Regions from separate parts of the Homo sapiens genome. Here regions 1, 3 and 4 are each linked to region 2. Evidence: promoter capture Hi-C in human tissues and cell types (Jung and others, 2019). All regions are on one chromosome and are shown on one strand. Each heading gives the region's core, a stretch centred on a gene start or on the middle of the fragment in contact. The rest is flanking DNA. Distances are from core to core; before and after follow the strand shown. Region 1 overlaps PPFIBP2 (PPFIB scaffold protein 2). Region 2 holds the start of RBMXL2 (RBMX like 2). Region 3 overlaps OLFML1 (olfactomedin like 1). Region 4 overlaps PPFIBP2 (PPFIB scaffold protein 2).

Region 1 (2,939 bases), core at 23-2,522, 440 kb before region 2:
ACTGGGCCCTGGGCAGACCTGCTCAGCAACAAAGACTGGCTGACTGTACTAGATATACGCATAAGAACCCCAACTTGAGCAGGCAGTCCTCACCAACACCCACCTGCTCAGAGCTTGAACATGTGATCTGTGAAAACAATGTTGTCCTTTCATGCAGGTATCCCAGCACCCACTCTACACCCCTGCATGGGCAGGCTCTCAGCAAATGCTTACTGAACTGTATCGGTCCCTCCTCTCAACCCCTACAGCCCCACCTGGGTTACTGCCCACATTTCTCTGACTCTTACCCTCATCCCACGCTTCCAAACCTCTTGGAGTACCACTCTTGCTAAACATCTCTTAGGGCTGACACCTTGGTATCCTAAACAGGTAAGGTTGGTTGTAGGTAACTTGTTACTAATGATAGAAGCTTTTTGTATAAATTAGAGAAGATTCAGGCTTATCTTGCCCCATTCTAATATACTTTATTGAAGGGATGAGAAAATACTGGAATTCAGCCAGCAATTCAGAAATTGCCTATAGTGGTCTGGGAGTAACAGTTTCTATTGTAATGTGAAAACTGCATTTAGGAAGTTAGAGATTAACTTCCTAAATATATATGTGTATGCATGCATATATATGTATTAGAACTCAGATATGCTTTGTGACTATCTGGCCATGTCCACTAAGTGCCTCTCAAAGGTTAATGTGGTTTGCCATGTGCCATCTGACCATCTTCCTGCCTAAATACGGTAAGAACAGGTCTTCACTGTAAATTTAAGACTGCATAATCTGGACTCTAAACATAGTGGCAAGATTAAGTGGAAAGAACAGAGTTTGGGGTCAGGCAGCCTGGACATCAATTTTATTTTGGCCACTCACCACCTAGGGAAACTTGAGATGATCAGGTATCTTCTTGAAGCCCATTTCCTCCTCAGTTAAAGCCCTGAAAGGCTGCTTTGAAATTTAAGTGAGCACAGACTCTGTGCTCAATGCCTGATGCATGATGGGTACTTCATAGACGGTAATTTCCAATCCCTGGTGCCCTATTTAACTTCGTTTACTCTTCAGTTCCAGCCAAATCATGCCGCCAGTTGTTTTCCACAGGTGCCCCTTAATTGGCATTACTCATGCCTTCCTTTGTGCACTGCTGTTCCCTCTGCCAGCAATTCCCTTCAGCCCCATAGAAACGGGCAACTCTGGTCCCTGTCTTTCCTTCAGGACACACCTCAAATGCCACCTCCTCAGCAAGCCAGGCCCCCCCAACATCTTTCTCTGAATATTAACTGTATTTTCTCAGCAGTTACTACTATCTGTTTGAGTAAGGGGGTACATTTCTTAAGTTCCATTCAGTCAGGGGACATGTCTGTTCATCTTGTGGTCCCATCATCACCATTCTCAGCATAGACAATGGTTCAAAAATTATTTAGAGGCTGAAATAATAAATACTGTCACAATCCTACTGATTCCACAGTACCTGAGAAGTATGCTCTACCTCTGCTGCTAAAGGGTAGGTTTCCCCAGATCCAATGGGCCAGTTCTGACCTTGGGGTTCCATGGCCACTCTTCCTACCATTCTTGCCAGACTCCTTCCCTGCCACCCAGACCAAGATATCACACTGCTCAGACATCCACGTTGCCTAACCACAGCAACTCTCTCCTCCCATACACCACACCCCACCCAAAACCTCAGCCTACTTGAATGAGGCCCTGGTACCCACATCCCTTCCTTGCCTCCCCTCCCAGGGATGGAACCTTGCTCACTCTATGGCCCAAGGTGCAGACAGTCAGACTTCCTAGGGTATGGTAGGTATAGAAGGGAGTGATCCAGGAGGACATTCTTGTGACCAGTGTCCTCCTGGATCACTCCCTTCTATACCTGCTATGCCCTCTAGGATGCTGTGAACCCAGCTGTCTCACACCACATACCCTGGTTCTCCAGGTCTCAGGATGGTGTGTTCTCAAAATCTTCAAGGGGTGGCAAGTGAGTCTAAAACAGCTTTCAGATGGTTGGGCCAAGGTAGGCATCAGCAAAGAATATACACAGTCCAGTCACTTCTTGGGATCATAGTCTCATTTTCAGCCCACAAAGACATTTGCTCAGAGCCTTTCCCCTCTCCCAGCCCTTGTCACTAAGTGGGATGTTCAGCCTGCGACTTGGGATAGAGAAGCTTCCGCATAGTCACGCCGGGCTAATTTTTTGTATTTTAGTAGAGATGGGGTTTCACCGTGTTAGCCAGGATGGTCTCAATCTCCTGACCTCGTGATCTGCCCACCCTCGGCCTCCCAAAGTGCTGGGATTACAGGCGTGAGCCACCGCACCCGGCCGCTTCTGCACAGCTTTAAGGCTGCTCTTTCCCCAGCCTCCCACCCTCACTCCAGCCTACATCTGCTGCAAGTCATTTCTGCTCAGAAGCCACCAATTATTCCCCACTACCGACAGGGTAAAGTCCAGCTTCTTAGTTTGGCATTCAAGTTCCTTTTCCCTTAGAGTCCCAACTTCTTTCTTTGACTTTTAATAATGGGAAGAGTCTAGCTAAGCTGGTTTCCTTATTATTTCTCGATCCCACTTCACTCACTTGGGCTTCTATGCCTTTTACTCACTTGACTGACCAGGGATCCCCAGAGAGCCTTTTCTTCCCAGCTCCCCAGGATCCCACCCCAGTTGGTTGATCCACAAAGCCTTCCCTTTGCCAAAATCTTACAGCACTTTAGTTAGATCTATAACCTTTCAGTATACCTTCCTCCCTGTTATTTCATAAACTCCTCTCTAGTCAATACTGCTTGAACAATACCCTTTGCAGGTAGACTCCAATATCTGCTCTAAAACAGCGGTTTGGCCCTAGAGACAAGCCTGAGTTCTTTAAAATTTCTTACATTATGTCAAAGTAGAATCTGCTCCGTCTTTAGTTTTCTTTGACATCACTACCATAGGCCTTCATCTCTGCCCTCTGAGCAAC
Region 2 (2,798 bases), core at 28-2,527:
CTCTCCAAGCGGCCTCCTAGACGGCCTCCGCCCCTGGGCACCCTGCAGCCTGACCGGCTGTAAGAATCACGCTGGGGAGGGCAGCCCCTTTCCATGGACAGAGAGAGCCCACGATCTGGTCTGCCCACCCGGTGTCGGCCCCTCGAGTAGCGGTCGCTCCGGCCATAACTGCTGCTGTAACTGTCGCGGCCGCCGCTGTAGGCATCGGGTGAGTAGCCCCGGTACTCCTCGTAGCGGCCTCCTCCTCCGTAAGATGGCGGTGTCCCCCGTCCTGGGGCGGCGCCGCGCAGCTCTCCGTAGCTCTCAAAGGGCTCTCGATGGGAGCCTCTGCTCAGATGATCCCCGTAGTCACGGTCGCGACCTCCGTAGCCGTCTCGGTCGCTGTAGCCTCTCAAGGGACAGTCGTCCCGGACACTGGAGTGGCCGTAATCGCGGTGGGTGTACTCTCCGGGCGAGGGGGCAAAACCCCGGGGTTCGCGGTAGTCTCGGCTCGAGTAGCCGTCTCTGGACGAGTAGCCCTCATCCCGCGGGCCCAGGTAGGGGTCGCGGCGCGGGGGCAGCGGCTCCCGGCGCGGTGGGCCTGAGTAGCCGTCTCGCCCCCGCACGGCCAGGGCCCTCCCGCGCATTCCACCGCCGCTGCTGCGAGCCGGGCCCGACGGCGCGGCCCTCTTGGGGGGTGGGCCGACCCTGCGCGGCGGCGGCCCACGCTTCATGGGCATCGGGGCCCTGGAGGGCCGCAGGTCGAAATCCGCCGTGTAGCCGCCGTCATCATCGGGCCCGCCCCGGGATGGGGAACGCCGCGGGCCGCCGCCACCCCCGCGGGTTCCGCGCAGGAACCTCGGGCGACCGCGGCTGCGGGGAGGCGGCGGGCCCCGCCGGCTGCTCTCGAACGCCGGTTTGGTGGCCTGGGCCACCTTGATGGCCTTACCATCCAGGGACTTGCCGTTCATGTCTCTGGCGGCGGCCTTGGCGTCTGCGGGGCTTTCAAAGGTGACGAACGCGAAGCCCCTCGACTTGTTGGTTTCTCGGTCTTTCATCAGGAGCACCTCGACGATGCGGCCATACTTGCCAAACTCGGCTTCGAGGGCTTTCTCGTCGGTTTCGAGGTTGAGGCCCCCAATGAACAGCTTCCCCGGGCGATCCGCTTCAACCATGTTTGCCGGTCGAACGGTCGGTCAGTGGCGGTGGGAGGCGGTGAGGCGGCGCCAGTCGCAGCCTTCGAGCTCGCTCGTCGAGGGCGGCTCCTACTGGTCAGGCGGCGCCTAGTCGCCGAGTCCACGGAACCGCAGCCGGAGCCCCGCTGCAGGGCGCGCCCCTGCTGCCTGTGATTGGTCGGCTGTTTCCAGAGGGCCAATTCGCCGTCGGGAAAGTCGGCAGTTTTGTGTCTCCTTTTCAGTCTTTAACTTCCTGTTCACCTGACCCGGTCTTAACGGCTTCAATGGCCTCCTGAAAGCTCAGGGAAAAGCCGTTAGGTGGAAAAAAATTTTTTTCTATTAGTTTTAATGAGAACAATTGTAATGATCCCAAACCTAAGCTACCCAAACCATTTTCAAACAGAAAAAAATAGTATGAATTTTTTAAATTACTAAAATTATTAAGTTAAAAATCATTTTTCAATTATTGAAAAATAGAGTAATAACAGTTAACAAGTTTAAATTTTACCTTACTGATCTTTTTAAACTAATCAGCTTTTAGCCTCGTCTATCCTCTGTTTTGATTTTATTTGGTGCTATTGTCTTTATTCTTTCTACATTTATTGGATTTATTGTTTATATTATTTTGTTCTAATTTTTTAAATAAGACACTTAGCACATTAAGAGTTTAAAAAATGTTTCTTCTAATTGTTATATTTAAGGTTAAAACTTATTCTCTATGCACTGGTTAATATCATGCCTTGAGCTGTAATATATGTTGTTTTCATTGTTGTTCAGTTCCTAAGATTTTCTCATCTTTGTTATTTCCTTTTTGGACCATGTATTAAAGAAGTATGTTTGTAAATTTTCAAACATATGTGCCTGTTGGTTATTTTTTAATATGCTCTGTACGATATCCATTGTTTTTCGTTGAGACTTGCTTTGTGACCTAATATGGTGTAATTAATGTTCCATATATACTGAGCAGAAAGTGTATTCTCTAAATGTTGGACAAAGTTCTTTCTTATTTTCTGATATTTAAATCTTCCCTTTTCTAACTTGTTTTTTATTTGATAGAATTGCCAAACACTAGAACTGTCTTAAAATTTACCATAATTGTGGATTTGTAAATTTCTCTTTGTCTTTATGTCTGGTTTTTGCTTCATGTAATTTAAGGTTATATTGTGAGATATATAAAAATTGAGAATTGCTACGTATTTCTGGTGAATACCTTTTTTATGTAATGATCCTCCTTATTCGTAAAAACCTTTTTACCTTAGTCCATTTTGTGTGATGCTTATAACTTTCGGTACTTTTGCAATTTCTTCCTAAATCTTTGCTATCAGCCAAACCTTTCCTTCTTCCTTTTTTCCATCTTTCTTGCCTTTTCTTGTAGTAAGTGATTTGTCTTTGTTTCTTTTTCCTCCACTATGGAAGAAGTTATGCCTTCTATTTCTACTTTTTCGAATGACTGCCCTTAATGTTTTTATTGAATGCTAACTTAAAAATGCTAAGTTTATAAATTTACTTATAAAATCAAGTTTACTGCTTAATTTTACGTGTGTATATCCATGTAACCATGACCCACATTAAAATCTATAACATTTCCATCACTCCAGAGGGTTCACTTGTGCCACTTACTAATCAAACCTAACTGAGATATGC
Region 3 (2,935 bases), core at 147-2,646, 420 kb before region 2:
CACTGCCCCACACACCCCGCCCTGGCCAGTCCCTTCACCAACAGCAGATTAACTCCTTTGAAAAAACAAATACCATTAGACATGAACTCTTTTCACTTCCTCTCCTCACTTATAAACTTTTCTTTAGTTGTTCCCCTGTCGCTACCCTCACACACATCTTAGAAGAAACTGTGTCATTTCTCCTGTCCAAGACTAATATATTCACTTGTACTGTGATCTCATCCTTTCCTGGCTTCTTCTAGACTTCCTTGATGAATTATCCCTTTTCTGTTATCTTTAATTTCTCCTTTGTTACTAGATTCTTAGCTTATAAGCATCTAGCCTATATTAAAACAACAACAACAATTCACCTTCAACTAGGCACCTTTTTCTAGTTGCTTCATTTCTCTTTCCATCATTTTATAGCCAGCTTCTCCTACAGAGTAGGCTATACTCTGTATCTACATCTTCACCTCCCATTCTTTTACTTCACCATAACTCCATAGAAATTATTCTTTATAATGTTACCAGGAACCTTATAACTGAAAACTCAAATAGACCTTTTGTGTCCATATTTTACTTGATCTTTCTGGAGCATGGTCAGTTCTTCCTCCTTGAAGATTGATATGAATCAGGATAAGATCAGCTCTACTGGTCATTTCAAGATAAGTCGGTCATCAGTTCTAATTTTGGACATTTTTTTTAAGACAGGTGAGACAGGTTTTTACTCTATTAGACAGGCTAGAGTGCAGTGGCATGATCGTGGCTCACTGTAGCCTCAACTTCCCGAGCTCAAGCAATCCCCCCACCTTCTCCTCCTGAGTAGCTGGTACTAAAGATGCATACCACCAGGTCCAGCTAATTTTGTTTATTTTTTGCAATGATGAGGTCTACTATGTTGCCCAGGCTAGTCTCAAACTCTAGGACTCAAGTGGTCCTACTGCCTTGGCCTCCCAAAGTGCTAGGATTATAGGCATGAGACACCACTCCAATCCAGTTGTGGACTTCTTGTTGGGACTGCCTTGTCAGGCCATCCGTTGTGAGATGAGTAGTGTCATGGAAGCAGGGAGTGGTGGTCTTGCTAGGAGCATGAGGAAACTTGCAGGTCTACCTCAAATCCTGCTGAGGTTTCTATTATGGGTAGGAAAGAGTAGTCTTAATAAGAGCATAGGAATGCTGGGCCTCCCTCATTGACTTCTGGGTGTGAGGTAGTGGAATGATAGTTAGATAGAGTCTTTAAAGGACAACTGAGCACTCTGAGGAGCTCCTTCAAATCCTTTGAAAGGGTTTGGTATAAGAAGCTGGATGTGGACCAGGCACCGTGGCTCACACCTGTAAGCCCAGCACTGTGGAAGGCCAAGGCAGACAAATCACTTGATCTCAGGAGTTCAAGACCAGCCTGGGCAACAGAGTGAGACCCCATCTCTAAAAAAAAAAAAAATACAATAATTAGCTAGGTGTGGGGGCGTGTACCTGTAGTCCCAGCTACTCAGGAGGCTGAGGTAGGAGGGTCACATGCACTCAGGAGGTGGAGATTGCAGTGAGCTCAGATTGTGCCACTGCTTTCCAGCCTGAGTGAGAGAGCCAGACCCTGTCTAAAAAAAAAAAAAAAATGCTGGATGTGTCAGCAGCAGGTTGTCATTTTCCTAATCAGTGCTTGGGTTCTTAAAGCCCACTGAAGGTCAACTGGAGTCAGAGGACAAGAAACAGGATGAAGGAAAGAAGACTGGACAGGAGGAAGAGAGATGCATAGTGAGATGGGTTCCAGAGGTTCGGAGGTAAGCAAGCATGTTAGCAAACTGTTTGCTATATGCCAGCTGTGTGGGCAGCAGTCCTATCATGCTTTCCATATGACTATCACACTTTCTCATCTCCCTGCAAGCCTCTGTCATACCCTCGCATGGAGATCTTCCCACTTACTCCGTGAGAAAGTAGAAGCAATCCTAGGAGAACTACATCATCTCCTGCCTGGACTACTGTAGCAGTCTCCTACATGGTGTTCATGCCTCCATACTTGCCTCCCATAGTCCAATTCCCACAGCAGCCAAAGGCGTGCTTTTAAAATGTAAGTCACATCATGTCCTGTGTCTGCTTGAAACCCTCCATTGGCTTCTCATTTCACTCAGAGTGAAATGGATAAAGCTCAGGCCTTTACCTCCAAAGCCACATATAAGCTGTTCTCCTACTGCTTCTCTCTTTGTTCTCCCTCTCCTTGTCCCCTACAACTTCTCCACCTTGTTCGTTTTGTTCTATCACACTGACTTCTGCTATTTCTCAGATTGTACCAAACACACTCCTGCCTTGGGGACTTGGCACTTTTCGTTCCCTCTGCTTGGAAACAAATATCTACATGACTTCCTCCCTTGCTGCCTTTATGCCTGTTCTCAAATGGTCCTTGGTCATTTAGACCTTTTCCCGTCACCCTATAAAAAAGGCAACCCTCTTCTCCAGCTCTCCAGGGACTCCTTTACCCTAGATCATTTTTCTCCATAGTGCTTATTATCTTTTGTCTGACATACATTTGTTATTAGCATATTATTGCTTAATTCCCCTCAATAAAATATAAACTCCATGAGGGTATAAGCTTTGTCTTATCTGTTTCATTCACTACTGTATGCCTTGTTCCTAGAATAGCATCTGGCACATAGTAGTTCCATATTTTCTGAATGAATAATGAATTTTCAACAACCAAATCCATCAACAAACTGCTCCCAACCCTACATTCTCTGCCATCCTTCCCGTGTCCTTTACTTTTGCAGTGGACCTCTTCCCCTTTCACCTACTCAAGAACTTATCACCTGAAATTATCTTCCCTTTCCTACCTCAGTAGTCTCTTCCTCCCTATTGGATCATTCAGTAAATCATCCATCCTGGAAAAACCTACTAGCAGGGCCCCATTTCTCTCTTCCACTTTATATTAAAACTCCTTGAAAGAGGCATTTCCTCACTTCCAGTG
Region 4 (2,700 bases), core at 127-2,626, 470 kb before region 2:
CTAAAACCTGGAATTAACAGGAAAATTTAGAAGACACCATAAACCACTAATGCTGGATATGCCTAAATATAAGGCAAGATTTGCCCCCCAGATTTCTCAGAAAAGGGTAATTCAACTTACAGTCAAGCCTAAAGTTTCTCTTTGGGGAATTCTATTTATTTCATTTTGAGCAACAAAGCAGTATTTAGAGTAGCACAAATATTTTCAACTTTCAATGCACATTGAAGTCACCTGAGCGGTTTTACAAACTCCAGATGCCTGGGCCCTCCTCCAGGGATTCTAATTTAATTGGTCTGAGGTGTGACCTGGGGTAATAAAAAGTTTCCCAGGTGATACTAAAATGATGCTTAAGCTGAAACCATGGCACTAGCAGATCACCTCAATGAAGTCTAGCTTTGATGGTTATAGAGGTCACCTGAGAATTTTTATTTTAAGGAGCAAAACCAAAATTTAATGAAGATTTAATAATTATTTTTGAGGATAAGACCACATACAATGCAAGTGTTATAGGATTTCATTGAAAGCCTTTTTTTCTTTCTTTTTTTTTTTTTGAGACAGAGTTGCTCTGTTACCCAGGCTGGAGTGCAGTGGCGTGATCTCAGCTCACTGCAACCTCCGCCTCCCAGGTTCCAGCAATTCTCCTGCCTCAGCCTCCCGAGTAGGTGGGAGTACAGGCACGCGCCACCACGCCTGGCTAATTTTTGTATTTTTTTAGTAGAGACGGGGTTTTGCCATATTGCCCAGGCTGGTCTCGAACTCCTGACCTCGTGATCTGCCTGCCTCAGCCTCCCAAAGTGCTGGGATATAGGCGTGAGCCACCGCAGCCAGCTGAAAGCCTTTTAATGATCGCTTTCGAAAGCACATAGGGATGTCTGTGGTAGTGACTGGGGTTGTTCAGATATTTTGTTCTCCTCTACTTGCATTCATAGTAGGCTCACAGTTCTGTCCCTTGAAGTCACTCATGGTCACATAACTTCCTTTGGCCAATAAACAGAAACCATGTGTATCACTGTGGGAGAAAGTCTAAGAGCCAGTACACAATTCCTCATATCTCTTCCACCTGCCCTGACTTCTGGCAATAGTGGAGACTCAATCAGTCTGTGTTCAAGTGAAGATGACAAGGACCAGAGCTCTTGGCAGATCTCAGGGAACTTGCAATGTGTACAAGAAATAAACCTTTGTGTTTCAAACTACTGACATTTGAGTAGTTTCTCACTGCAATATAACTTAGCCTATCTTCATTCATGCAAAATATATATTTTGTACAATTAAGACATATAGACAAGATAAACTTTTAAAGTCTAACCTTTTACCACGTAAATGGAGTTCTTTGGCATGAGATGAAATAGCTGATGACAGCATCATATGTGAATTTTTAAAGTGTTGTATTTAAAACAAATTCCAAGTAAGGATGGCATGTTCTAAAACCTTGCCACTTAAAAGAGGGGTCCACAGGAGTAGCAATAGCAAAACCTGAGAGTTCATTAGAAATACAGTCTCGGATCCCATCCCAGACCTACAAATATGAATCTGCATCCCCAAATGCTCTACAACTGCTCTAGAATGCTAGGATTATTCAAAAAGAGCGCTCAAAATGATAGAAACAAAGATAAATATAAAAAGCTTGAATAAAATTATTTCATCAGATGTGCCAGTGATGGGAATGGTGGTGGGCACCTGTAATCCCAATTACTCAGGAGGCTGAGAATTGCTTGAACCCAGGAGATGGAGGTTTCAGTGAGCCAAGATTATGCCACTGTACTCCAGCCTGGGCAACAGAGCAAGACTCTGTCTCAAAAAAAAAAAAAAAAAAAAGTGCCAATGAGACAAGAAGTTCATAAATTAACATATTATTTTGAATTATTGAAAGCCTTTTACTTAGTGCTTAAACACGTAACTAAATCAATACACTAATATGAGTAAATATTTTGTCTATTTGGGAATATTTGGGCATATGTCATATGTTTTACATAATTAAAGGAGAAAAGGAAGAAATAAAAACCTTAAAGAAAAGGAAAGCATGATTTTAAAAAATAGGAAAATCTGAAAAAAAAAATACAAACCAAAATAAAGAATGCAGCCAAGCAAATTAATTAAGTGAACAGGTTAAATAGCAGATGAGAGAATTATTGGAGAGGAAGATAGATTTGAAGAATGCTGCAAACAGAGACACAAGTGAAAAATATAAAAGAGGAGTTAGGAAGCATGGAATTAAAAAAGGAGGACAAGGTCCAACACAATTCTTCAGGAATTCCAGAAGAATACAGAGGATGAAGCAGAGACAACAAAGAAAATGGCTATGAATTTTTCAGAATGGAAAACTTGAGTCCTCTCAGCTTAAAGACACTCACTGAGTCCCAAGAATGATACATCAAAACAAATCCACCCAAGAAACAACACAGTGAAACTGAAGAACACCAAAGATAAATAAGAAGTTTAAAAACAACCAGAGACAGAAGACAGATACAGATTGCCAGACTTCTCATTAGCAATAAATCCCTGTGACCACAAAATAATACCTATGGATAGTGACCAACCTACAAGCCTGTACAAGATAAACTATCATTCAAGATTATGAACATTTAAGGACATTTTTCAAATGACGACTAATACAATCTATTACTGACAGACTATCAAATTTTAAGGAAGAAAACTATCATGCAAAAAAAGCAGGATGAAAGAATCAACTATGACTGGAGA

The links. The method cuts DNA at HindIII sites, captures the fragments that hold promoters and counts their contacts. A contact is called where the count stands out against the background at its distance.
Region 1: a contact is called between a fragment that was not itself captured here and the fragment with the promoter of RBMXL2 in region 2, in 1 of the 25 tissues and cell types used here (H1 embryonic stem cells).
Region 3: a fragment that was not itself captured here is called in contact with the fragment with the promoter of RBMXL2 in region 2 in 1 of the 25 tissues and cell types used here (H1 embryonic stem cells).
Region 4: a contact is called between a fragment that was not itself captured here and the fragment with the promoter of RBMXL2 in region 2, in 1 of the 25 tissues and cell types used here (H1 embryonic stem cells).

What each region holds. Positions count from the first base shown.
Region 1 is chr11:7,525,958-7,528,896 of GRCh38, reverse strand. The region is part of intron 1 of PPFIBP2 (PPFIB scaffold protein 2); the gene reads right to left. The region is part of intron 1 of LOC124902806 (leucine-rich repeat extensin-like protein 5); the gene reads left to right. Among named protein-coding and RNA genes, the nearest start is that of PPFIBP2, 13 kb to the right of the region's middle. RefSeq lists an enhancer at 1-6. The HindIII fragment of the contact is 3,969 bases long and covers 1-2,939 here.
Region 2 is chr11:7,087,477-7,090,274 of GRCh38, reverse strand. It overlaps RBMXL2 (RBMX like 2), which reads right to left and starts at 1,277. Exons shown (of 1, transcript NM_014469.5): 1 at 1-1,277. The coding sequence starts at 1,154. It also overlaps a transcript of NLRP14 not described here. The HindIII fragment of the contact is 18,438 bases long and covers 1-2,798 here.
Region 3 is chr11:7,503,588-7,506,522 of GRCh38, reverse strand. The region is part of intron 2 of OLFML1 (olfactomedin like 1); the gene reads right to left. Among named protein-coding and RNA genes, the nearest start is that of PPFIBP2, 8.9 kb to the left of the region's middle. The HindIII fragment of the contact is 4,572 bases long and covers 1-2,935 here.
Region 4 is chr11:7,556,605-7,559,304 of GRCh38, reverse strand. All of the region lies in intron 2 of PPFIBP2 (PPFIB scaffold protein 2), which reads right to left. Among named protein-coding and RNA genes, the nearest start is that of PPFIBP2, 44 kb to the right of the region's middle. The HindIII fragment of the contact is 3,703 bases long and covers 1-2,700 here.